Regions from separate parts of the Homo sapiens genome. Here region 2 is linked to region 1. Evidence: promoter capture Hi-C in human tissues and cell types (Jung and others, 2019). All regions are on one chromosome and are shown on one strand. The core of a region is centred on a gene start or on the middle of the fragment in contact, and the rest is flanking DNA. Distances in the headings are between cores, read along the strand shown.

Region 1 (5,996 bases), core at 1,772-4,271:
TGTTTTTTTTCCAAGCTGGAGTGCAATGGCGCGATCTCAGCTCACTGCAACTTCCGCCTCCTAGGTTCAAGCGATTCTCCTGCCTCAGCCTCCGGAGTTGCTGGGATTACAGGCATGCCTCACCAAGCCCGGCTAATTTTTGTATTTTTAGTAAAGATGGGGTTTCACCATGTCGGCCAGGCTGGTCTTGAACTCCTGACCTCAGGTGATCCGCCCACCTTGGCCTCCCAAAGTCCTGGGATTACAGGCGTGAGCCACCGCGTCTGGCAGAACTCCTGATATCAAGTTATCCACCTGCCTCAGCGTCCCAAAGTGCTGGGATTACAGGTGTGAGCCACCATGCCCAGCCAGACAACTTTTTTTTTTCTCTGTCACCAGGGTAGAGTGCAGTGGCATGAACATGGTTCACTGTAGCCTCAACCTCCTGGGCTCAAGCAATCCTCCCTCCTCAGCCTCCAGAGTATCTGGGACCACAGGTACATGCCACTACACTTAGCTAATTTTAAAAAATTTTTAGCTGGGCACAGTGGCTCAGGCCTGTGATCCCAGCACTTTGGGAGGCCAAGGCAGGCGGATCACGAGGTCAGGCGATCAAGACCATTTGCCCAGGTGGGCGAATCACCTGAGGTCGGGAGTTCGAGACCAGCCTGACCAACATGGAGAAACCCCATCTCTACTAAAAATACAAAAAAAAAAAAAAAAAATTAGCCAGGTGTGGTGGTGCATGCCTGTAATCCTAGCTACTTGGGAGGCTGAGGCAGGAGAATTGCCTGAACCTGGGAGGCAGAGGTTGTGATGAGCCGAGATCGCGCCATTGCACTCAAGCCTGGGCAACAAGAGTGAAACTCTGTCTCAAAAACAAACAAACAAAAAAACTCTAATGCCGTTCCCTTGCACAGAATAAAATCCAAGCACTCCACAAGACCCTGAATGACCTGGTCTCAGCTTTCTCTCAAACCTCATCTTGTATCACCCTCTCCATGTTTTGCTATATCCATCTACTCTCTCTGTCTTTCTGTTTATTGCATACCAAGCTTGAGTTGGCCCCAGGACCTTTGCACTTGCTGTTCCACCAATGTGGCCTTTGCACTTGCTGAACCAACCTGTCTTTTTCTTTTTTTTTCACCACTATCTTATTCCAGAACATTTATTTTTATTTTTATTTTTTGAGATGGAGTCTTGCTCTGTTGCCCAGGCTGGAGTGTAGTGGTGCAATCTCGGCTCACTGCAACCTCTGACTCCCTTGTTCAAGCGATTCTCCTGCCTTAGCCTCCCAAGTAGCTGGGATTACAGGCACCCGTCATCACACCCAGCTAATAGTTGTATTTTTAGTAGAGATAGGGTTTCATCATCTTGGCCAGGCTGGTCTCGATCTCCTGACCTTGTGATCTGTCCATCTTGGCCTCCCAAAGTGCTGGGATTACAGGCGTGATCCACTGCACCCGGCCAGGTCAATGAGTTTTAAAGATCACCTGTGTGTATTAAAGGTGAAGATTTAAAAAGGGTGACCACAGGAGGTGGAGGTTGCAGTGAGTGGAGATCCCACTGCATTCCAGCCTGGGCGACAGGGGAGACTCCATCTCAATCAATCAATCAATCAATAAAAGAAAGAAAGAAAGGGTGACCAGTTGAAGGGCTGCTGCAATGGGCCGGTGGCTTGTATTAGAGTGGTAGTGGTGGAGGAAATACAGGATATATTTTGGAGGTAGAAAAACCAACACGTTGACAGCATGGATACAGGGGTTTAGGGTGGAAGGGGTTGAAGGAAAGAAAGACCTCTAGGAAGAGTTTGACATCTCCACGGCGGACTTCAAATTTAGGCATATATTTTATATGTATTCAGCCTCCACATATTGCATTTAGAGTCTCAATTAATTCACTGGGACACGGCATGGCATAGGGAAGGAATCTGTACTAAATTTGGAATCCCAATCCTGTGTGATCTTGGAAAGTGCCTAAACCTGAAGTGGTGAAGAGCCACCACTTCCTCTTCTTTCAAACGGTGATAGGATGTCTAAGGGTTTGAAAAGATGTTTGCAAAGCTCCACAACAGCACCTAGAACTCAGGGTGTCTAAGGAGGTTGTGGGAAACCCTAACGGGATGAGGCAGAGAGCCTCAGATTCGAGGTTTTTACCCAGGAGAGAGTGGTGAAGGAGGAATGTTGTAAGATTTTGAGCAGGCTGGACATTTACAGTATTGAGAAAAAGAATATTCCAGTTTCAGCCGGGCGCGGTGGTTCACGCCTGTAATCCCAGCACTTTGGGAGGCCGAGGCGGGTGGATCCCGAGGTCAGGAGTTCAAGACCAGCCTGGTGAAACCCCGTCTCTACTAAAAAATACAAAAATTAGCCGGGCTTGGTGGTGGGCGCCTGTAGTCCCAGTTACTTGGGAGGCTGAGGCAGGAGAATCGCTTGAACCTGGCAGGCGTAGGTTGCAGTGAACCGAGATCGCGCCACGGCACTCCAGCCTGGGCGACAGGGCAAGACTTCGTCTCAAGAAAACACACACACACACACACACACACACACACACACACACACACACACACACAGAGTATTCCAGTTTCTTCCTTTTTTTTTTCTTTTTAATCTGGAGTAGTCCAGTTTCTGCCTGAGTTGGAAATGAGTCCCTCTGCTATGCATCCCAGCAAAAGGGCACCTTAAATATCTAACCCGGGAGAGTACGAGGTTATTCCTGGAGTCTGGAACAGTGACTATCATAGGTGCTCAATAACCGTTTAGGGAAGAATAACATCCAGTGAAGTCAAGAGGTTGGCGTAATTGGAACACTCGGCGTGAGGCGCACCAGGTTTCCAGCGCCCCTGGTTTCCACGTCGCTATGGTAACGACTCACCCTGCACACATGCGAACTACAATTCCCATAACCGCCCGCGGCTTCCCCGCCCACAGGGAGAGAATGGCGGGAGCAGGCACGGAACCGGCTTTTCCTCCTTCCTGCAGCGTGATTGGCCCGCGGCTCAGGGAGGCGACCAATGAGTGCTCTCGCGGAGAGCGACGGGGCAGGCCAATATGGCTTCCTGCACCTGGTGACGCTTGGCGAAACTGAGGTCTCATGGAGAAGCCCCGGAGTATTGAGGTGAGAAGGCGAGGACTTAGCGTGACTGGGAAAGGGAACTCCGAGAGCCTCGCTCCGTGGGCCCTTCTTTAGGGCTTTTAGCGACGCCTGGAGGGTGGAGGGTGGGAGGATGGATAAACTGAGGTAGTTAAACTGAGCCAGGGGCAGAGGCAATTGACGTTACTTTTTGCCCCTCTCCTGCTGGGGCCAACGTTCGGCGAGGAGTTCAGGGAGGAACAGCCGTCCCTGGCCTGGGGGAAAGGGAACTAGGTTTAGGATCTGAGAGCTCCTGAATCTTCCTTATCCTGCTTGTCTCGTGGCTGTGTTGTTTAGGGCTTGTGAGGCCTGTTACATGAGGTGGGAAGTGAAGGGAGATTAAAGTTGGGTGAACATCACTCCTTGTCTGTAACGTTCACGTGCATTATCTTCCAGTACACTCACAGCAATCATGTATTATTCTTTCGTCTTTGTCGTTCAAGCCACTGAGGCTTAGAGGTGGTGCGACACCCCAGGAAGTTACCCCGGCTGGAAAGTGAAGGAGATTGGCACTAAGTCTGTCCGCCTCTGAAACTTTGCCTGTTATGCTTTTCACACTGTACTGCAACCTGGAACCCACTCATCCTTTTTTTTTTTTCTTTCAGACGGAGTCTTGCTCTGTCACCTAGGCTGGAGTGCAGTGGCGCGATCTCGGCTCACTGCAACCTCCGTCTCCCGGGTTCAAGCAATTCTGTCTCCATCTCCCATGTTCCTGGGATTACAGGCATGTGTCACCACACCCGGCTAATTTTTGTATTTTTAGTAGAGACGAGGTTTTGCCATGTTGGTCGGATTGGTCTCGAACTCCTGACCTCAGGTGATCTGTCTGCTTCACCTCGGCCTCCCAAAGTGCTGGGATTACAGGCATGAGCCACTGCACCCCGCCTCATCCTTTAATCATTTGGTTTCTGGGCACCTTATATTTAAGAGACGGGGTGTTCCTATGTTGCCCTGGCTGGAATGCAGTGGTTACTCACAGGCGTGATGACAACGCACTGCAGCCTCTAACTCTTGGGCTCAAGCAATCCTTACACCTCAGCCTCCTAAGTAGCTGGGACTATAGGTGGTCTCTGTCACCCTGCCTGACAAGGGTACCTATATTTGAATTGTTTCCTTGCTGGGTGCGGTGGCTCACGCCTGTAATCCCAGCACTTTGGGAGGCCGAGGCGGGCAGATCACGAGGTCAGGAGATCGAGACCATCCTGGCTAACATGGTGAAACCCCATCTCTACTAAAAATACAAAAAAATTAGCCGGGCGTGGTGGCAGGCACCTGTAGTCCCAGCTACTCGGGAGGCTGAGGCGGGAGAATGGCGTGAACGTGGGAGGCGGAGCTTGCAGTGAGCCGAGATCGGGCCACTGCACCACTGCACTCCAGCCTGGACGACAGAGCGAGACTGTGTCTCAAAAAAAAAAAAAAATTGCTTCCTTTCTAGCATATTTGCATGTGTAGTTGCAAATATAAGGTGGAATAGCTCAAACTTTCTGCAAGGGTAAACGAGAATAATCATGTGGAGAATAAGAATAGCAAGTCACACTTTTAGAGCTGTTACTGACTGCTGGAAATAGAACTAGGTTTTACATATCTTATCTCAATCTTCGTAAGAATTCTCTAAAGAAAGCTTATTACCTCTCTTGTAATGATGACAGCAGCAAGATAAAATACGCACAAAATCACACAGTTAATAAATGTTAGAGCCAGGATTCAAACTCAGGCAAATCAGAGCCTATGCTTTCAACCAGTAAAAATTGGCAACCTTTATTGAGCACTTACTATATGCAAGTCACTATTCTGAGAGCTTTGCCTGTATCGTCTCTTACTTCTCCCCCAAATCCTTTTTTTTTTTTTTTTTTTTTTTTTGAAACAGGGTTGCTCTCTGTCACCCAGGCTGGAGTGCAGTGGTGCAGTCATAGCTAACTGCAGCCTTGACCTCCCTGGCTCAAGAGTTCCTCCCACCTCAGCCTCCCTAACCAAAACACCCAGCTAATTTTTTCCATTTTTTATAGAGACAGGGTTTCCCTATGTTGCCCAGTCTGGTCTTGAACTCCTAGGCTCAAGCAATCCTCCTGTCTCGGCCTCCCAAAGTGCTGGGATTACAGGCATGAGCCACCATGGCCAGCCCCCAAACCCTATGAAATAGGTGGTACTATCCTCATTGTACAGATGTGGAAACTGAAGCACTGCAAAATTGACTTGCTGCAGGTCATACAGCGAGTAAGCACTAGAGATATTTGAGCTCTGGACCAGAGGCCAAACTTTTCTCCTTTCTTCACACCTTTTTTTTCCTTTGAGACAGTGTCTTCCCTCTGTCATCCAGGCTGGAGTGCAATGGTGTGATCATGATTCAGTGCAGCCTTGACCTCCCAGGCTCAAGCTGTCTTCCCACCTCAGCCTTCTGAGTAGCTAGAGCCACAGGTGCATGCCACCACCACCCAGCTTTTTTTTTTTGAGAAGGAGTCTCACTCTGTTGCCCAGGCTGGAGGGCAGTGGTGCAATCTCGGCTCACTGCAACCTCCAACTCCTGGGTTCAAGTGATTCTCCTGCCTCAGCCTCCCGAGTAGCTGGGATTTCAGGCACCCACCATCATGCCCAGCTATTTTTTGTATTTTTACTAGAGATGGGATTTCACCATGTTGGCCAGGATGGTCTTGAACTCCTGGTCTTAAGTGATCCGCCCGCCTCGGTCACCCAAAGTGCTGGGATTATAGGTGTGAGCCACCGCACCCAGCTTTTTTTTCTTTTTCTTTGGAGACAGGATGTCATTCTCTTGCCCAGGCTGGATTGCAGTGGCATGGTTATGGCTCACTACAGCCTTGACCTCCCAGGCTCAAGCAGTCCTTCCACCTCAGCTCCAAGAAGCTGGGACTACAGGCGCATGCCACCAC
Region 2 (5,925 bases), core at 1,797-4,296, 580 kb before region 1:
TACACTCCAGCCTGGGCAACAGAGCAAGAAGACTCCGTCTCATAAATGAAAATAAATAAATAACACAGAATAAGTAAATAAAATAGAATAAAAACCCACAACCTCTTTCCCTTCAATGCCACAACCTTAGAGCATGAACCTGGAGTGCAAATTTAAAGAGTGAAAGGCTCTTGCATAGAAGCTTTAGTTCAAGTGATTTCTTCTCATAAAGATGATCACATAAACAATGGACAAAAAAGAAAATAACCCTTACTTTTTTTTTTGAAAGTGTCTCACTCTGTCCCCCAGGGTGGAGTGCAGTGGCATGATCTCAACTCACTGCAACCTCCACCTCCCCGGTTCAAGCAATTCTCTTGCCTCAGCCTCCCAAGTAGCTGGAATTACAGACCCCCACCACCACACCCGGCTGATTTTTTTGTATTTTTAGTAGAGATGGGGTTTCGCCATCTTGGCAGACTGGTCTCGAACTGCTGACCTCAGGTGATCCACCCACCTTGGCCTCCCAAAGTGCTGGGATTACAGGCATGGGCTACCATGCCTGTCCTAAGATTTACTCGTTTTTTTTGAGATGAGGTCTGGCTCTGTCACCCAGGCTGGAGTGCAGTGGCGCAACTACAGCTCACTGCAACCTTCACCTCCCAAGCTCAAGCAATTCTCTCCCACGCCTCAAGTTTCCAGAGTAGCTGGGATTATCGGTGCACAGCGCCGCGCCCGGTTATTTTTTGTATTTTTTGTAGAGACGGGGTTTTGCCATGTTATCTAGGCTGGTCTTGAACCTCTAAGCTCAAGCAATCCTCCCAAAGTACTGGAATTACAGGCGTGAGCCACCACGCCCAGCCAACCCTTACTTTTAATTTCTAAATTTCTCTTGCTCTACATTTTAAAGGAAAGACAATATATACACATATATATGGCAAACTCAAAAAGACTACTTTAAATATATCCATCATATAACTAAATACGAAACACAAAGCCAGGGCCAGGCATAGTGGCTCATGCCTGTAGTCCCAACACTTTGAGAGTTCAAGGCGGGAGAACTGCTTGAGGCCAGGGGTTCAAGGTTACAGTGAGCTACGATCGTGCCACTGCGATCCAGCCTGTGTATCAGAATGAGACCCTGTCTCAAACACACACACACACACACACACACACACACACACTAACTAAAGCCAAAGTTTCAACCATGATAACACCACTCTAACACCAAAATTCAACACAGTGCATTCTAAAATATTAGGAAAGGACAACTTTCCAAGTTCCTGTAAATTTTGTGGTAGAGAAAATATGTACAAATTAACCACAATCAAGAGACCCTGGATCACTTACCCCATTTACAATTTAAAAGATACTGAAACACTGACAAAAAAAAAAATTCTAAAAATGTGGATATTACAGTATGCCTTTATTTGGTAATTTTTTTGTTTCTGAGACAGTCTCACTCTGTTGCCCAGGCTGGAGTGCAGTGGCACAAACACAGCTCACTGCAGCCTCGATCTCCCGGGCTCATGCACTACAAGTGCATGTCACCATGCTGAGCTACTTTTTTTACTTCTTGTAGACACACGGTCTTGTCATGTTGCCCAGGCTGGTCTTGAACTCCTGGGCTCAAGTGATCCTCCCACCTTGTCCTCCCAAAGTGCTGGGATTACAGGTGTAAGCCATAATGCCTGGCCCTTATTTGGCAAGTATTAATTGAGCAACTTAAGATGTGAGGTTACTATTATAGTTTTCCACCTCAGGAATGGCAACCAGATACATATAATGAATACCGCACAGAATATTTTCTGAGCTATAACATCTTGATTACTACTACAAAGAGTTCTCACTATAACTGACATTTTCGCTAACTATGCAAAAGACACTGAACACGAAAAGACATTTACTAGAGGCAAAGTTAGGAACTTCATATACATCATGGTAGGAAGCCAGAATTATTTAATTCAAAAACAGATCTGGATTCAAATCCTGGCCAGGCACAGCGGCTCATGCCTGTCATCTCAACAGTTTAGGAGGTCAAAGCGTGAGGGCAAGAGTTCAAGATCAGCCTGGGGAACACTGTGACACCCCGCCTGCACAAAAAAATTTAGCCGGGCATGATGGCACACGCCTATAGTCCTAGTTATGCAGGAGAACTGCTTCAGCAGTTTGAGGTTACAGGAGTTTGAGGACACAGTGAGCTATGACCCTGCCACTACACTCATGTCTGGAAGACAAAGCAAGACTCTGTCTAAAAAAAACAAAAAAGCAAAACAACAACAAAAATCCTGTTATCTAGAAGTTCCTCTAGAAGCTTCTCTTTGCTCATCTGCAAAATGCTGCTACTACCACTTATTTCAGAGTTCATATGAGGATTAATAAGGTAGCACAATGTCTACTATAAAGTAGATGCCCCTATTACTTCCCTCTTTACATTTCTTCATAATCCTTATAACGACCTCATGTTGTAAGGATTATTAACTCTAGTTTACAGATGAAGAAGCTGAATCACAGGAAGGTTAAGGAGTAAGCCTACAGTCACATACCTGGTAACTGTCAGTACCCAGATCTGCTGTGCCCTAAAACTTGACATGGACATGTTACCTCACTGGATATTTTACTCTGTCATATTATGAAGTTCAGAACTTTGTTTGAATTATGCCCATTATGCTTTAAATTTTAATACAAGAACAATTATTTTCAAAAACCAGAATCACCCATAATTTCCACTCATAATTTTAGAGGACAAAGACCTGTAAATAGCCTACCTATCTAGAAATTCAGTAACAGAGGACACACTCCAGATCTCAAAATGAACTAGCCAAATTACTCATTACAAGCTCTCATTTACACAGAGAATGATTTCTAAATGCATATCAATAAGAATGAGTGGGGAGCAAATGAACCAAACATACCACAGAAGTAAAAATGTGGAAGTAAAAAAAAAAAAAGACATTTTCACAACGCTCTTTCTTCCAAGGATTCTACAGATCTTCTATTACTGCTATATGAGCCGGCCTTAAATACTGTGTGAGGAACTGGCCTGGGCTCAGCCCCTGGACTGTTGTGGAACTCAAATCATTTAATTTCACAGTGCCTCCTCCCACTAAACAATGAGAGAACTGGACTTGAGTCATGAACCACAGAACTGAAGGCAACTTGAGCAATTAGTTCCACCCAATGCACCCTGACAGGTCACCCAATTTCTGCTTTAACACCTGCAGTGACACAGAGTGTAATTATCTTCTCTCCTCATACATGTGATATGGATTCAGTATTTTTAAGAATTTTGGCCAGGCACGGTGGCTCACACCTGTAATCCCAACACTTCGGGAGGCCAAGGCAGGAGGATTGCTGTGGCCAGGAATTTGAGACTAGTCTAGGCAATATAGCAAGACTCTCTTCTCTTCTCTACAAAAAAAATTTTTTAAATTAGCCAAGCAGAGGCTGGGCGCGGTGGCTCACATGTGTAATCCCAGCACTTTGGGAGGCCGAGGCGGGCGGATCACTTGAAGTCAGGAGTTTGAGACCAGCCTGTCCAATATGGTGAAACCCCGTCTCTACCAAAAATACAAAAAAATTAGCCGGGCATGGTGGCACATGCCTGTAGTCCCAGCTACCTGGGAGGCTGAGGCAGGAGAATGGCTTGAACCCGGGAGACGGAGGTTGCAGTGAGCCAAGATCGAACCACTGCACTCCAGCCTGGTCAACAGAGCAAGACTCCGTCTCAAAACATAATTAAAAAAAAAAAAATTACCCAAGCAGGCCAGGCACAGTGGCTCACGCTGTAATCCCAATACTTTGGGAGGCCGAGGCGGATGGATCGCCTGAGGTCAGGAGTTCGAGATCAGCCTGGCCAACATAGTGAAACTCCGTCCCTACTAAAAAAAATATATACATATACAAAAAATTAGCTGGGCGTGGTGGTGGGTGCCTATAATCCCAGCTACTCGGGAGGCTAAGGCAGGAGAATTGCTTGAACCCAGGATGCGGAGCTTGCAGTGAGCCGAGATCCCGCCACTGCACTCCAGCCTGGGTGACAGAGCAAGATTCCATCTCAAAAAAAAAAAAAAAAAAAAAAAAATTAGCCAAGCATGGTGGTACATGCTGTTGTCCTAGCTACTCAGGAGGCAGAGGCAGAAGGATCACTTAAGACAAGGAGTTTTGAGGTTGCAGTGAGCTATGATCCCACCATATGCTTCACAAGAGCTTAGAGGTGGAACTAGGGCCCACACTAATACCTAGAATGAGAACCTGTGTGGCTGAGTTTGAGGGACAAGGTTAATCTGGAGGGCATTTAAAAGGTACAGGACTGGCCAAGCACGGTGGCTCATGCTTATCATCCTAGCGCTTTGGGAGGCCAAGGCAGGCGGATCACCTGAGGTCAGGAGTTTGAGACCAGCCTGGCCAACATATAGTGAAACCCTGCCTCTACTAAAAAATACAAAAATTAGCTGGGCATGGTGGCACATACCTGTAATCCCAGCTACTTGGGAAGCTGAGGCAGGAGAATCGCTTGAACCTGGGAGGCGGCAGTTGCAGTGAGCCATGATCACACCACTGTGCTCTACCCTAGGCAAGAGAACGAGACTCTGTCTCTCAAAAAATAAAAATAAAAAAATAAAAGGTACAGGCCTGGGTGTGGTAGCTGGATGACAGAGTGAGACTCTGTCTCTTTAAAAACAAAACAAAAGAAACAAACAAAAAAACACCTGGGCAGTTTTTAAGTCAACAGAATCGTTTTTCTGTTGTACAAAATCAGAGATTTCAGACTTCAACTTGGAGAAAGCTGAATCCATTTCTATTTCCTTTCCTTTCGACGTAACAAATCTACTTCCTAAAGTAGTAAAATGGAAGTCATCTTCATTAGGAAGATCACTACTGCCTCTAAAGAGTTTATCTAAACTGATGCAGTTTCACAAAATCCGTCCTTTGAATTCCTAAACTTCTATACTCCAGATTTAGAAGTTTCTTATAATTAACTTTCTAATTTATTTATTTACTTGAGACAGTGTCTCATCTGTTAACCAGGCTGGAGCACAGTGGTGTGATCACAGCTCATTGCAGCCTCAAACTCCTGGGCTCAAGCAATCCTCCTGTCTCAGCCTCTCACATGGCTGGGATTATAGGCATGAGCCACAGTACCAGGCCTATACCTTTGAAATTCCCTCCAGGTTAACCTTGTCCCTCAAACTCAGCCACACAGGTTCTCATTCTAGGTATTTTTATTATGGGCCCTAGCTCTTGTGAAGCACATGCTCTTTTAAGTACTGCTTCCAGCTAAACCCATTCTACAGACAGAGAGCCCAGTAAATTCAAAGATACAAGATGGTAAGAGACACCCTTAATGGCAACTTGTGCACCTCCTTGGGTCTTATTTTAACTGTGGAATTCACCTAAATAAAGCCACTGGTTCACTCTACTTTGTAAAATAAAAATTATCTAGATGTAGGTACTTGACATAGAAAAATTGATGGTGAAGCAGCAATGGTTAACATTTAAATGCCTCCTTCTGCATACTCATATCAGTCTATATTCATTCATCTCTCTGACTCCAAACTAATTCACCCAGTCAGTTCTACGCTACTGCCCAAAACCAATGATGATCATAATAACCATGATAATGACATGCATGTAAAGCTGTTCCAAGGACTTTATATATTTTTATTTAATCCTCACAGCAACAATATGAAGCAGGCCCCATTTTTATCCCCATTTTACAGCTAGTGAGTCACAGAGAATATAAAGTAGCAAGAGTATCATAGTCACACAGTCCAAGTTCATACACACGGCCGGCAAGTAGAGCCAGGATTCCGATCTATGCAGTATGACTCTAGTATTTATGTTAACTACTTATGCTGTGTAACTGCTCATCTATCACTAAGTTACTGTTTTCATCAATATAAAAAAAAATGACTCCACCTTCACCATACACATAGATTTCAAATA

Evidence for each region. The method cuts DNA at HindIII sites, captures the fragments that hold promoters and counts their contacts. A contact is called where the count stands out against the background at its distance.
Region 2: a contact is called between a fragment that was not itself captured here and the fragment with the promoter of L3MBTL2 in region 1, in 1 of the 25 tissues and cell types used here (hippocampus).

The regions. Positions count from the first base shown.
Region 1 is chr22:41,202,291-41,208,286 of GRCh38, forward strand. L3MBTL2 (L3MBTL histone methyl-lysine binding protein 2) reads left to right here and starts at 3,022. Exons shown (of 17, transcript NM_031488.5): 1 at 3,022-3,096. The coding sequence starts at 3,073. RefSeq lists an enhancer at 3,866-4,366. The HindIII fragment of the contact is 28,306 bases long and covers 2,884-5,996 here.
Region 2 is chr22:40,625,741-40,631,665 of GRCh38, forward strand. All of the region lies in intron 1 of MRTFA (myocardin related transcription factor A), which reads right to left. Among named protein-coding and RNA genes, the nearest start is that of MRTFA, 8.0 kb to the right of the region's middle. The HindIII fragment of the contact is 9,289 bases long and covers 1-5,925 here.